Regions from separate parts of the Homo sapiens genome. Here region 1 is linked to region 2. The links are contacts of gene promoters, found by promoter capture Hi-C in human tissues and cell types (Jung and others, 2019). All regions are on one chromosome and are shown on one strand. Each heading gives the region's core, a stretch centred on a gene start or on the middle of the fragment in contact. The rest is flanking DNA. Distances are from core to core; before and after follow the strand shown. Region 1 overlaps INTS6 (integrator complex subunit 6). Region 2 holds the start of FAM124A (family with sequence similarity 124 member A).

What was found. The method cuts DNA at HindIII sites, captures the fragments that hold promoters and counts their contacts. A contact is called where the count stands out against the background at its distance.
Region 1: a fragment that was not itself captured here is called in contact with the fragment with the promoter of FAM124A in region 2 in 1 of the 25 tissues and cell types used here (hippocampus).

The regions. Positions count from the first base shown.
Region 1 is chr13:51,399,055-51,401,755 of GRCh38, forward strand. The region is part of intron 4 of INTS6 (integrator complex subunit 6); the gene reads right to left. Among named protein-coding and RNA genes, the nearest start is that of MIR5693, 52 kb to the left of the region's middle. The HindIII fragment of the contact is 4,892 bases long and covers 1-2,701 here.
Region 2 is chr13:51,221,064-51,223,763 of GRCh38, forward strand. It overlaps FAM124A (family with sequence similarity 124 member A), which reads left to right and starts at 1,335. Exons shown (of 4, transcript NM_001242312.2): 1 at 1,335-1,506. The coding sequence starts at 1,439. RefSeq lists an enhancer at 483-1,273 and silencers at 1,054-1,103, 1,224-1,283. The HindIII fragment of the contact is 11,319 bases long and covers 1-2,700 here.

The sequences.
Region 1 (2,701 bases), core at 164-2,663, 180 kb after region 2:
AGTTTTGCCTGATTTTGAACTTTATAAAAATGGAGTATTGTCTCTTTGGTTTATGGCTTCTTTCATCATTGTAAAGGTAAGAATCACCTATACTGCTACATACAATGGTAGATCGTTCATTCCTATTGCCATATTGTTTATCTGTATATCATAATTAGTTTTATTTTTTAGAGACAAGCTCTTGTTCTGTCACCCAGGCTGGAATGCAGTCACATGGTCATAGTTCACTGCACCCTCAAACTCCTAGACTCAAGAGATCTTCCTGCCTCAGCCTCCCAAGTAGGTAGGACTACAGGCACGTGCCACCACACTCAGCTCACTTTTTAATATTTTGTAGAGAAGGGATCTTCACCAGTCTGGCCTCAAACTCCGTAATTATCCTTTTGAATTGTTTGGGTATGTTATGAATAGTGTAACTATGAAATTACAGTACATGTATTTGTGGAAAATATATGTATGCATTTCTGTTGAGTATATACCTAGTTGTGGAATTGCTGGATATGAATATGTTTACTTTCATCAGATACTGCCAGTTTTCCAAAGTGGTTATACCAATTTATACTCCTACTAGCAGCGTATAACAGAACCAGTTGCTCTGTATCTCCTTCATCAACACTTAGTTTTGGCTGTCTTTTTCATGTTAGCCATTGTGGGTGTGTGTGTGTGTGCGTGTGTGTGCGTGTGTGTAGTGGGGTGGGGTTTTAATTTCCCTGATGTTTATGGAAGTGGAATACCTTTTCATACGCTTATTGGCCATTTCAACGTGCTCTTTTGTGAAGTGACTATTAAAGTCTTCTGCTTATTATTTTTAATTGGGTTGTCTAGCTTTCTCTTATTGATTTGGAGGATTGTTAATCTATTCCAGATGTCTTTTATTGCAGGGATCCCCAAGTCTGTGGCCTGTTAAGGAATGGGGCCACACAGCAGGAAGTGAGCAGTGGGCAAGCAAGCATTACTGCCTGAGCTCCACCTCCTGTCAGATCAGCAGTGGCATTAGATTCTCATAGGAGCATGAACCCTATTGTGAACTGCACATGCAAGGAATCTAGGTTGTGCGCTCCTTATTTGAGAATCTAAATAATGCCTGATAATCTGAGGTGGAACAGTTTCATTCCAAAACCATACCCACCCATGTCCACAGAAGAACTGTCTTTCTTCCAGGAAACCAGTCCCTGGTGCCAAAAAGGTTGGGGACAGCTGCTTTATTGGATACATTATAGTATTGCAAATATCTTCTACTCTGTTACCTCTTCCATTATTTTAGTGGTATCTTTTGATAAACAGAAGTTATCTAAATATATTTTTCCTTTCACAGTTAGTGCTTTTTGTTTCCTCATAGATAATGAAGATGCTCTCCCATGTTTTCTTCTAAAAGCTTATTATTTTCCCACTTAAAATCAAACCTGAAATACATCTGAAATTGAGTTTGGAGTATGGTCCAAAATAGGGGCAAAGATACATTTTTTTTCCCAAATGGATATCCAATTGATACAGGCCATCCTTTCTATGCTGCACTAGAATGTCACCTCTTTCTTATATCGGGTGACTGTACACGTGGTAGTCTATTTCTGTGTCAAAAACAGTATTACATGGAAGGAAAAAAAGGCAAGATGCAAAATGATGCACAGAATAGCATCTCTACACATTGTTAAAAGTAAACAATGTTTAGAATAGTTTTAGATATGTGTAGTAAAAATAAGAAAATGTGGACTAAATGACTATAAATCAAATTTGCAATTGTTGATTACGGGAAGGGAAAGAGGGAGGAAAGTGACACTGAGTAGGGGAACAAGGGAGACTACACACTATCAATCTGCAATGTTCTGTTTCACTTATTAAATTTTTTAAAATCCAAAACAAAAAGAACAAGGCAAATATGGCAGAAACTTTTATATTCCTTATTCTTATCCAAAGTACTGAAACATATTAATATGAAGATAATTGTCAAAAGCCAGTAAATTATTCAAGTAGTTATCTGTACCTCTTTTCCAATAATGTCATTATTTTATACAAAACCAAAGACAAGAAAACTTCCTATATGCCTCAACTGAACAAGAGAAAGATTAAGTACAGTAATTACTAACTCCAAAGCTCAGACATTTGTAAGGACCCCTAACAAAGAGTTATTCTTGATCAGCCATTAAAATACACTGCAAGAAGGTAGACTACTTCCTGAAAACTATATATGCATTCACTCATCATTTTTTATGTACCTACCAAATATTAGGTATGTTTAGGCTCTGAGGATTTAAAGATAAATAATAAAATACACCCAGTACTTTAAGAGTTCTAAACAGAAGGATCATGTTCCTGAAGGAATCTGTTTCAGAGCTGTATTTAACAGAAAGAAGAAAACTGAGAATCACAGTACTAGCTAACAAGATATTTAATAGGATTTTTATTTCTGAACACTGGATGGGATAAGAGTTTCATAAGAGCTGTTTTCTGAGAGTTAATCCCAAGAAACTCTAGTATGAGTATTCAAATGGAAGTGTCTGAACTAATGATGCTTTAAAAAATATAGCCATTAATAACAATAATACTTTTATAGTGGTTACTATTAGAAGGCGCAAGTTATTCTAAACCCGTTATATATATTAATTCATTTAACCCACAAAATAAACATATGAGATAGGCACTATTATAGTCCTCATTTACAAACAACAAACAGAGAGCTTCAGGACTTGTCTGAAGGTACACA
Region 2 (2,700 bases), core at 85-2,584:
ATGCTGATTTCACCCTTTCTTCCCTGGCCTTTTCCTTAGTACCATCTTCCTGAGGATACAACTGGCCCACTCATCAGCCTTCTAGGTAAGTGGCACAGGCTCCAGCTACCTTAAGTGGACTACCTGGCTTCCCTGCTCACTGATAGGGTGTCCTGGGACCAGGCACTCGAACTCGGTAGGGTTTAGTTTCCTTGACGGTAAAATAGAAAAGTAAGCCTGTTTCACAGCACTTCCCTGAGGATCAAATGAGGCACAGTTTGAATTGTTCCCACACAGAGTAAATAAAGGCAGGTTCCCTCCTGGCTGCAAGATAAAAAATGGGCAGGGGAATCTCCCTTGAAGAACTGGCACGCTCCTTTCTTTCAGCTAATGCCCACCAATATGTCCATTGCTGTTTGGGGTGCAAGAAATTTTAGGCTCAGTAAGGACAATTCCTCCCAATGGTTTGGATAGGGCTGTCAGAACTAAATTCAAGTTGTTCGAAGTCTCCTTCCGCCCGCCCTGCCAACTTGCCTCCCTCTTCACCCTCCTAATAGGAGGTGAGCCCCTCCAATAGCGATCATTAACTCACCCTAAGGTTATCCCCTTGCTGCAACAACCCGTGAATTGCAGGTTCATTCAATGCTCTTTAAATTATTTTTAAAGGCTTTTTTTTTTTTAAGTAGCAAAAGAATGCATGACACCTATTGTAAACTGGCAAGTTGAGGGGGTGGGATGCCGCTCAGACGTGTACTGAGAAAGGTGATAATGAATTTGGCGTCAGCAATTCTTCAGAAACTATAAGAAAACACCCAGGTGTTCGAATTGGTCCCAAAAGGGAAACAAATCCTTCCCAGCTTTCACGATGCGCTGAGGTTGGTTTTCTCAGTGCTCCTCCCAGATCAGGAGGTGGGGAACCTCGTGGCAAGCCCTGGGGCTCGGGATTCCCGGACTGTGGGCCTGGGGGAGAGAGGCGGCTCTCGTGTGCACACTTACCCCGCCCCCACAACACACACGCGGTCACGCACCACAGACGGGCACACGCGCTCAGCACAGCCACAGTCGCGTGCAACCAGGAGTGCACACCGCACCCACATCACACCGCATGCACAGACGCACGGGTGTGAGACCACACACCTCGGCCACTCACGCTCACACGCCCCCCACGCGCTCGCACACGCGCTCGCACGCGCACTCCCCGCGCACCGCCGCGCGCACACGCGGGTCCCGCCGGACGGCGAGGGGCGGGGCGGGCGCGGGCGCAGGCGCGGGTGCCCAGCCGGGCGCGGTCGGGAGAGGGCGCGGCGCGGGGTTCGCGGCTGGCGCTTGAGTTGTTTGCCGGCTCCCGGGCCGCCAGACGCTCGGAGGGAGCCCGGCCGGCTCGGACTGGGCGGCCGGGAGGGAGGGCGCCCCGGGTCACGACGGCGCCCGCAAGCCGAGCGCGGCCGGGACGTGCACCATGGACCCAAAGGCGGGCGGCGGCGGCGAGGAGGACGACTGCGTGGACTCGGGCGCCGAGACCGGAGGGTGAGCCGCGCCGGGCCGGGCCGCGGGCGGGGGGCGCTCTCCGAGTTGCGCGGCGGCTCCTCCCCGGACGGGGACCCTCCTGATCCGTGCGACGGGACCGGGGCGCGGGGCTTCTCCTCCTGCCGGATCCCCCGCTCTCTCCTGGGCGGGCCGCGCTGCCCTGGGCAGGGCGGGCACCACCCGGGGGGAGGAAAGTGGAAGGACTCAAGGTTCAGTGCAAGCCCACCCATCCTGTGAGGCGATGCAGAGCGCCAGGCGGATGCAAAGACCCCTTGTCTGCATCGCTAGAGACAGGAGATGCTCTTGCACTTGTTTCCTCCTTCCTCGGGGACTTTCCTCCTGTAGCTCCGGAGCCCCCTGGAGTCCGGCCCTGGAGATCGGGAGAGGAAGAAAAGCAGGGTGGGACACCCGCACCTAAAAGTCTTTCCGAAGTCGGCTAGGAGGATGGCATTTCTCGTTATATGGCTTCATCGTGGGACTTTAATCTGTGCTGCCGAGTCCCCCTCCCCGACTCCTCCAGTCCCGCCGAACTTCCTCACCTCTAAGTGCACCTGTCCCAGCTGGACCCTTTGGCCTGTTGTACCGGCGGGATGGAGATGGTGTTGGGATTAGGATCTAGCCCTGCCTTTTTTTTTTTTTAATATTCTCTTCGCTTCAGCGGACTCAAACAATGGGCTCAAACCTTTGGAGACTAATTAGTTAGTCTCCAAACACTGTTTTCCTGAGCGGAAGAAAAGACAAAATGCCTTTTAGGAGATGAATGTCGTTATAAAGGCTTCCAGGCAGCCTCTGTCTCTAAAGGACTTTCCTGTGCAGAGTCAGCACCACATCCAGGCCGCGGGTACTGACCCAGGAGGAAAGGGTGTTTTTTCCTATCTGGAGTAATCCTGGGGGAGGGCGGGAGCTGCCTAGACTACAGAAAGCCTCATTCCTGGAAGGTCGGAGAGGTTTTAGACTAATCTCAGGATTTGGCAACCCTGTGAGGGCAGGTAGAGAATCCAGGCCCACGATCGACCCAGAGTTCTAACCCAACCCCGGCAAAGCTCCCCACAGGGCCCCTCCTGCCCCACCACTCCTAGCCCAAATGCGGGACTTTACTCCCTAGGGCATTCACCCAGCAATGGGCTTTCTCTGTTATCCAAACTTATTCATAGCTCTCTACAGCACCCAATTATAATCTGGTGGAGTAACCTG